Linked DNA regions of Homo sapiens: region 1 is linked to region 2. Evidence: promoter capture Hi-C in human tissues and cell types (Jung and others, 2019). All regions are on one chromosome and are shown on one strand. Each heading gives the region's core, a stretch centred on a gene start or on the middle of the fragment in contact. The rest is flanking DNA. Distances are from core to core; before and after follow the strand shown. Region 1 has its middle 41 kb from the start of UBTD2. Region 2 holds the start of FBXW11 (F-box and WD repeat domain containing 11).

Region 1 (4,554 bases), core at 159-2,658, 320 kb after region 2:
GCCTATTCATCCCAGAGTCTGGCAGAGTTAAAGGAAAGTTTAGGATTAAACAGGATGACAGAGTTTCTCTCTCTTTTATTTCCCTGCCTTCCTCCCTATCTCTCTCCTTCCTTCCTTCCTCCCTCCCTCCTTTTCCTCCTTCCTTTCCTTCCTTCCTTCCTTCCTTCCCCTCCTCTTCCTTCTTCTTTCTTTCTCTTTCTCTCTTTCTCTTCCTTCCTTCTTCTTTTTCTTTCTTTCTTTCTTTTTCTTTCTCTTTCTTTCTTTTTCTTTCTTTCTTTCTCTCTCTCTCTCTTCCTTCCTTCCTTCCTTTCTCTCTTCTTTCTTCTCTCTTCTTTCCCTCCCTCCCACCCTTCCTTTCTTCCTCTCTCCCTCTCCTTCTCTGTTTTTTAGAGAAGGAACTTCGCTCTGTCACCCAGGCTGAAGTGCAGTGACATGATCATAGCTCACTGCAGCCTGGCACTCCCGGGCCCAAGCGATCCTCCCGCCTCAGTGCCCATTGATTACAGGCATGCACCACCACGCCTGCCCCATAGTGTTTCTTAAGTTGGATATAAAACCTCCCTATGAGAATAAATTTTTAAAAAAATGGAAAAAACCCTTCTCTATGAGAATGTTTAAATTCTGAGTTTCCATTTCAATGACATTTTAAAAAAGACAGATTGGTAAAAGCCCTGAATTCAACACTATGCAACTTATCCATGTAATAAAATTACACTTGTACCTCATACATTTATAAAAACAAAATAAGTAAAAGATGGATAGGTATATTCTGGAGAATCTGAACGTTGGCCCCAACAACTGATTTCTGCTGGCAAGTGAATTAGGGTCTCAGGCTATGACTTCAAATTTCATTAGCTAAGGAGAAAAGAATCAGGTCCGACGTCATATGTTAGTGATATATTTGTGCCAAATGAGTGTTGAATGCACCACGATATGCTGCTTTAACAAAGGTTTTCCCAGTATTTCCATTAGAGAAAAATGAGTCATCACAATACTCAGAATATATAGGCAGATTGATTCCAAAAAATCTACTCCAATGCGGTTGCCTCCATCCTGTCCGTGTGAGTGGAGATATAATTTCAGCAAAGCTGAAAAAAATCAGTATATGTATGTGTGTGTATATGTGTGTGTGTGTGTGTGTGTGTGTGTGTGTGTGTATGAATTAAAAATAAAAAGCGCCATCAGGTCTCCTGTTAATGTTAAGGTAAACTCTGTCAGCTTTGTGTTTAACCTGTGAAAGTATTCTTTTTTTTTTTTTTTTTTTTTTTTTTTGAGACAGAGTCTTGCTCTGTCTCTCAGGCTGGCGTGCAGTGGCATCATCTCGGCTCACTGCAACCTCCGCCTTCCAGGTTTAAGGGATTCTCCTGCCTCAGCTTCCAAAGTAGCTGGGGATACAGGCATGCGCCACCACACCTGGCTAATTTTTGTAGTTTTAGTAGAGAAGGGGTTTCACCATTTTGGCCAGGCTGGTTTCGAACTCCTGACCTCAGGCGATCTGCCCACCTCGGCCTCCCAAAGTGCTGGGACTACAGGTGTGAGCCACTGCGCCTGGCCCAGTATTCATTTTTTACTTGCATAGTAGCTACAAGGCAACATGTTTATGTCTGTCTGGCTTATGTATATAATATACATTAATTTAAAATCATTTAAGTCTAAACACTGGGAATCTATAAGAATTTTGTTATCTTTAAGATGGGTGGGTACAAACTCAAATTTGAAAAACTGTTGTCTTAGTCCATTTTGTGTTGCTATAACAGAATACCACAGGCTGGGTAATTGATAAAGAATAGGGATTTATTTCTCACAGTCGTGGAGGGTCGGAAGTCCAAGGTCAAGGGGCTTGAATCTGGCGAGGGCCTTCTTGCTGTATCATCCTGTGGCAGAAGCAGAACGACAAGAGAGACACGTGCAAGAAAGGGAAGGATCCCTCATGTCTTGGTGCTGTCGTTGAGTGAATGAGTTCTCATGAGATCTAGTTGCTTAAAACTGTGTGGCACCTCCCACCCACTCTCTCTCTTGCTCCTGCTTTTGCTATGTGAGACACCGCCTCCCCCTTTGCCTTCTGCCATGATTGCAAGCTTCCTGAGGCCTCCCCAGAAGCTGAGCAGATGCCTGGCACCATGTTTCCTGTACAGCCTGCAGAACTGTGAGCCAATTAAACCTCTTTTCTTTATAAATTACCTAGTTTCACATATTCCTTTATAGCAAGGCAAGAATGGCTTAACACAGTGGTCTAAAGAGACAATGGAATATTACTGAGCCTTAAAAAGGAAGGAAATTCTGACTCATGCTACAAAATGGATGGACCTTGAGGACATTATGCTAAGGGAAATAAGCCAGGCACAAAAGGACATACACTTATATGAGGTACCTAGAGTAGTCAAACTTATAGAGCCAGAAAGTAAAATGGGCTGGGCGCGGTGGATCACGCCTGTAATCCCAGCATTTTGGGAAGCCGAGGCGGGTGAATCATCTGAAGTCAGGAGTTCGAGACCACCCTGGTCAACATGGTGAAACCTCATCTCTACTAAAAATACAAAATTACTCGGGTGTGGGGGCTCATGCCTGTAATCCCAGCAACTTGGGAGGCTGAGACAGGAGAATCGCTTGAACCTGGGAGGTGGAGGTTGCAGTGAGCCGAGATCGTACCACTGCACTCCAGCCTGAGCAACAAGAGCGAAACTCCATCTCAAAAAAAAAAAAAAAAGTAAAATGACGATTGCCAGGGAGCTGGGGGGAGAGGAGAGGAGAATTGTGGGGTTAGTGTTTAATGGGCACACAGTTTCATTTTGGGAAGATGAAAAAAGTCTGAAGATGGATGGTGGTGGTGGTTGTCCAACAATGTGTGCGTAACACTACTGAAGTATATACTAAAAATGACTGAAATGGTAAGTTTTGTATTACGCATATTTTACCACGACAAAAAAAAATACAGTAAAAGCAGTTTAGCAAATTCATGTTCACAGCAGCAAGGACATGACGTGGTTCTCACATCTCCATGGAAGCTGCCACGTGCTTCCCAAGTGCTGTCCGCATCTTGATTCTTCTAAGAGGGACTTCCACAGGGCTCTCCAAGTGAACATTCTTATGATCCTAGATGAATGCAGGGAGAAAAATCAGCAAATCTTCAGTCCTTTCCAAACGAAAGACTAACGTGGCCTGGGACTTTGTCTGTTTGTCTATAACAGCATACCGCAGACTGAGTAATTTATAAAGAACAGGGATTTATTTCTCACAGTTCTAGGGTCTAGGAAGACCATGATCAAGGCCTTGGCATGTGGTGATGGCCTTCTCGCTGGGTCCTCACGTGGTGAAAGGCGGAAGGGCAAATGGGGGATGATCGCTGTGTCCTGGCAGGGCAGAAGAGCAGCTGAAACACACTTCCTCTGTCAAGCCCCTTTACGAGGGCAACTAATTCCATTCATGAGGGAGGGGCCCTCCTGGCCTAGTCACTGCTTAAAGGCCCTGCCTGGTTTTTTGTTTTGTTTTGTTTTGTTTTGTTTTGTTTTTTGAGACAGCGTTTCGCTGTTGTTGCCCAGGCTGGAGTGCAAGTGCAATGACACGATCTCCGCTCACCGCAACCTCCGCCTCCCGGTTTCAAGCGATTCTCCTGCCTCAGCCTCCCTAGTAGCTGGGATTACAGGCATATGCCGCCAGACCTGGCTAATTTTGTATTTTTAGTAGAGACAGGGTTTCTCCATGTTGGTCAGGCTGGTCTCGAGCTCCCGACCTCAGGTGATCCGCCTGCCTCAGCCTCCCGAAGTGTTGGGATTACAGGCGTGAGCCACCGCGCCTGGCTGGCGGCCCTGCCTCTTAATACTTAAAGGCCAATGTCACATTGGCAACATCTGAATTTAGGAGGGGACACATTTGAACCATAGCGGCCTGGTTACTCCGCTGAGGATAGTAACTAACATGCACCACCCAACCCAGATTCCTCATATTTATTCACTGTAAGGAATAAACTAAATTTAATATAGTGAAGTTCTGAATAATGCTTAAAATGTAGGATCTACAGCAGCATACATGCCAAAGTGTGTTCTGTGGGATGTTCATAAACGTTACATGTAAAAGAGGATTCTGTTGTCAAAGATATTTTGGAAATAACTGGATTGAACTAGGTTAAACAGCTTGTTAATTGAAGGCTTCGGAGTCTTTAATGTGCTGGTGTGTGGCCCTCCAAGGAGGGAGATTTGGAGGATATTCAGACAAGTGTTTGTCAAGTGGATTCAGCCACAGAACAGCTTTTCATGATCATGTTGAGGGAGGGTGTTCCATAAACATACTTTGGAAAGATGTCCATTTTGAGAAAAATAATAAAATAGAAGATAAATATATACTAGGCAGGGGTTGTCAAGCTCTGTAGTCCTTGGGCTTAACCCATCCAGCCGCATGTTTCTTTTCACATGGTTTGTACATTTTCAGACAGTTGTATTTTGAATAGTTACGTAAATACTTGTGTAACATTCTGGTTTTGCCCCTTGGTTTGCAAAGCCCCAAATATTTACTATCTGACCCTTTAAGAAAAAGTTTGCCAACTCCTGTACTAGGCAA
Region 2 (4,347 bases), core at 522-3,021:
GCACACACACACACACACACACACACGCATGCAAAAATCAAAAACTATCAGTTTCTTTTTTTCCCTCCTAGTTTTCAAGAATGCTAGAGAAGTCCAGTTCTGTGAATTATGCAAAGGACAGCAAACATTAAGCTGCCTCCATATTTATGCTACTGTACTTCCATTTTTAAAACAAGCATCTCAACTCCCCAGACACCATCATCCACAGAAACCATGCAGCTATCCAACAGACTTTCAGTGTCACCATTTATTATTTATAGCGTTAAATGGGGGAAGTGGCTCTGATGTCACCAACCCTACCCAGTGGAATCACTGACTCAATAAACATTTTCACACTGAAGAAAATCTGGCTAGGAAAACATTTTGCTGGGTTAAGTAGATTCTTCCACCTCTCCTCTCAACCCTGGGGAAGAAGTTGTTACCGTGTTAGGAAAGATACAAAGAAACTGTCAAGGCTTCCATAGGAAGAAATCCTGGACATGTCCATTTGCTGATGCAGACTTCCTCTTCCCAGCTCTCCAGAGCCCAATTTGATTTCCCTCATGTTCACGTTGGCAGGTAATATCTGCCATATTTTATTTCTTCCACCAAATCATCCATCAATTAGCAAATTCTTCACTTCTAGCCACTCTCTCACTGTCCTGTTCCTAAAAACCCCTTCTGGTTTCAAATCCTAAAGCTTCGGAGGAGGGTGGAGGGTGTCCACGGACCGGGAGTCTGGCCTGGCTGCCAGTGGTTTCTAACAGAAGAGTGGTCGCTTCCCCCGGGGGCCAAGGATTCCCCTCTTTTTTTTTTCTTTCTGAGAAGAAAGACCTCGCGGCAGTGATGAGGATGGCTCCCTCCCCAGTCATCTCCAATTTCCCAAAGCAGCTCTGGAAAACGTGAAGTTGCGCCTTCTCTTTCCTGGAGGATGGAATCCAGAGTACCTGGGCCCTTGCTATGCAAACATCCCTCTCCGCCGGGTAGGAAACCCTTTGTCCGAGAAGCCGGACACCACAAGGGCCCGGGAAAGAGGCCTCCTTATCCGCCACAGCCTCAAACCCGAAAGCTCCCTGCCCCCCCAGCTCTGTAGGGCCTATCCTGGCATCCACACAGACCTAGGCTGGGGAGTGGGTGCTGAGACCTCTCCTAGGACGCGGAGGCCCAGGCGGCCCCAACCCATCTCCGTACTCCTTCCCACCATCTCACTCGGCCTGAGTGGGGCTTGCAAGCGCGGTGCGGGCCTGGGCCGAAACAGAGGAAAGAAAAAAAAATCCCTTTCTAAAAGAAGGAGAATGGGGTGCTAGAGCGAGTGCGACCTAAGTCTACAGCATAAACGAGCGAGGGTCGTCCGAGAGCTGGGACCGGAGACGGGACCAGGGGGAGGGGGAGAAGCGAGGGGCATGGAGGGGGCCGGGCCAGGACCGGCCGGAGATGTCGAGGGATCAGAGGAGCCCGCGCCAGGTCCGAGGCCAGGGAAGGCTGGGGGCCCGGGTCTGGGTCGAGGCGTCTGGGAAGGGCCAGAGCCGGCCTCGCACCGGACGTTGAGGTGGGCAGGCCCGCCCGGGGCCGGACGGACGGAAGCACAGACGGTCCAGCGGGCCGCACTCACCATGAGCTCGATGGTCTTGTCCTCAATCACCGAGTCGGGCTCCATGGCGGCCCCGGCGGCCCCGCCTCGCTCTCCCCGCGCAGCAGCGAACGGCCCGGGCGGAGGAGGCGACGGCGGAGGCGGCAGAGGCGGAGGCGGCTATCGCACCCACTCTAGCTGCCAGCCCGCCCGGGCCGCCGGCAGCTCCGCCCTCCCCCTCGGCGAACGCAGTACGCAGATCGGGGACTACACCTCCCAGCAGGCGCCGCGGCCCGCAGAGCGTTGTGGGACCGAGCCTCTGACACCAGGTTGCTGGCTCTTGGCAGCCCGAAGCTGAACTCCGAGCTGAGAGTAGCACTGGACGGTGGGCGTAGGACGTGCAGACCTGAAGAGTTAAGAGCTTGCTCATGGCAGGGCCTCGAGAGCGCCACGACTACGTGTCCCAGAAAGCCGTGCGCCCGGGTTGTCCTTCCGGCTAGCTTCTCTTGACTTCCTGGCAGCCCAAGGCTGCCCAGACCGGGACGGAAACTCCGAGGCAACTCCTCACTTGTCGGAGGTCCTGCGTATGCGACCCATTTCCGCACATGCGCGGTCCATGCCGCAGTGCTCCCTAGACGCCTAGGTAGCTGCGCGGCCCGTCCGGCAGTGTCTGATGGTAGGGGCAGATGGTGGAGACAGGTGGGTTCTAGGTGCGTTAGGAAGGTGTATAGACCTGGGGCTCAGGTGTGGGAAGGGGCCAGCGAGTGAGAGAAGCTCGGCCTGGGGAAGAGGCTCTGAGAGGATGGGCATCCCAGGAGTGAGAGTTTCGAGATTTCTTCGGGAAAGACGGGGTTTTGGGAAATGTGCTGTGGTGCTGTCTGTATGTCACACGATCTGCGAGGAGCTGCGAGATTAAAGGGGACGTGCGTATATCGAGCCCCTCATTCATTCGTTCAGAAAATGGTTATTTTTTAAGCATCCAGCTTCCGCTGCGTACCGTTCTAGGCGCTGAGAATCAGCTCTGAACATGACAGACAAGGCTCCTGTTCTCATGGAGCTTAATTCTGGTGGAGGGACGACAGACACTAACCAAAAGAGTGGCTAAGAAGGAACACACAAGCGGAGACTCCTTCTAGTGAACTCAGCCTCCAACTCTGTGTAACTTAGGTCTGTCCGTGCCCTCTAACCAAATCCCACCAGGAAGACACGGATCGTTGAACAAGCTGGGTTTATTACTAGTTGCAGTGACTGAGAACACACATTGAGGAACGATAGGGCCTCTCGGTAAGAGTTGTTAGTGATTTGGGAGAGGGTTTAAGGAAGTGAGAGCTTCACTGGATTAGATACTGTCAGGAAGAGAGGGTCGTTCCATGATTGAGCATCTCAGTTCATCTTATCTAGAGGAAGGGAATTCTAGATTGAGGCTAAAGCTGTGCAGATAAAGAAACAGCAGCCTGGCCGGGCGCAGTGGCTCACGCCTGTAATCCCAGCACTTTGGTAAACCGAGGCAGGCGAATTGCTTGAGCGCAGGAGTTCCAGACCAGCCTGGGCAACATGGCGAAACTCTTCTCTACAAAAAATACAAAAATGAACCGGGCCTGGTGGTGCGCGCCTGTCATCTCAGTTACTTGGGAGGCAGAGGTGGGACGATCGCTTGAGCCCAGGAAGTGGAGGTTTCAGTGAATGGAGATCGCACCACTCCACTGTACCCTGAGTGATAGAGCCAGACCTTGTCTCAAAAACGAAAAAAAAAAAAAAAAGTGCAGCAGCAGCTCCCTCATATTAGCCAAGTGGGGATGTTGAGTCATTTTTTGTGGTTTGGACAATCATCAGGTTTTATCTTTTTATCGTGTTTAGACCTGATTATAGAGTGGTCTTGTATTTGTCTGGATCTATCATGGTCACAGAATGACCTCGTCTGATGTTGATGTTCTTTGGAATTGTTTTTGTTCTACAGGAAAACACAAAGCCTAGCTATAAGGGCCAGGCTGTGGTCTAGTAACATCATGGCATGGCTGATTGTACCAGGCCAGCTTCCAGATATCAGAGGCTGCTTTTCACTTTCTCAAAGTGTTTTTGCATTCTCTGCACCTATAAAGTCAAAGAGGCTGGATGACCTAGAAATCTTTCCATTACCAAGGACCAAGTTACAGTAATTTGCATGCATTCAGGACACAGTATAAGTTCCCTGCAGGTAGACTTTGAAGTTTCATAGTCCTTACCTGGTGCTTTTCACCAAGGGAATTGAAAGAAAAGCAATAGGAAGAGCACAGAATTGGAAAGTTCTTACCACTGTCATGCTATCTGAATTTCACCAGGTCCGTTCCACTATGGCCCTTAGGACATTCATTAGTAAAACAAAGGGATTAGATATGACCTCTATTTCAGTTACCTGTTGCAACACAACAAACCTCCGAAGACTTAGTAGCTTAGAATAACAATGGTTTATTATGATTTTACAATTGTGTGGGCTGACCCGGGCTCAGCCGGGGCCCACATGCAATCAGCTGGGAACTCATTCAAAATGACTTTTCATCTTCTAGGGCCTCTCCTCCCTGTGGCTTTTTATCATTCAAACGTCTGCATAGTGACTTGAGAAAGGACAAGCCCCAGTGAACAAATGCTTATCAAACCTCTGGTATGCACCACACTTGGTAATGTCCCGTTGGCCAAAACTAGTAGTATGGCCACACCCATAGTCAGTGTGGGAAAGGATTGTACAGGGGCATAAAAACAGGCATGGGGTAGGAGTCACAAGCTGGATGTGACCCTCCCCCCGCCGACCCGGCACATACATA

The links. The method cuts DNA at HindIII sites, captures the fragments that hold promoters and counts their contacts. A contact is called where the count stands out against the background at its distance.
Region 1: a contact is called between a fragment that was not itself captured here and the fragment with the promoter of FBXW11 in region 2, in 1 of the 25 tissues and cell types used here (adrenal gland).

What each region holds. Positions count from the first base shown.
Region 1 is chr5:172,322,288-172,326,841 of GRCh38, forward strand. It overlaps a transcript of SH3PXD2B not described here. Among named protein-coding and RNA genes, the nearest start is that of UBTD2, 41 kb to the left of the region's middle. The HindIII fragment of the contact is 5,649 bases long and covers 1-4,233 here.
Region 2 is chr5:172,004,867-172,009,213 of GRCh38, forward strand. It overlaps FBXW11 (F-box and WD repeat domain containing 11), which reads right to left and starts at 1,772. Exons shown (of 14, transcript NM_001378974.1): 1 at 1,592-1,772. The coding sequence starts at 1,636. RefSeq lists enhancers at 937-1,056, 1,656-2,283, 1,827-2,096, 3,539-4,166 and silencers at 1,397-1,506, 1,517-1,796. The HindIII fragment of the contact is 22,108 bases long and covers 1-4,347 here.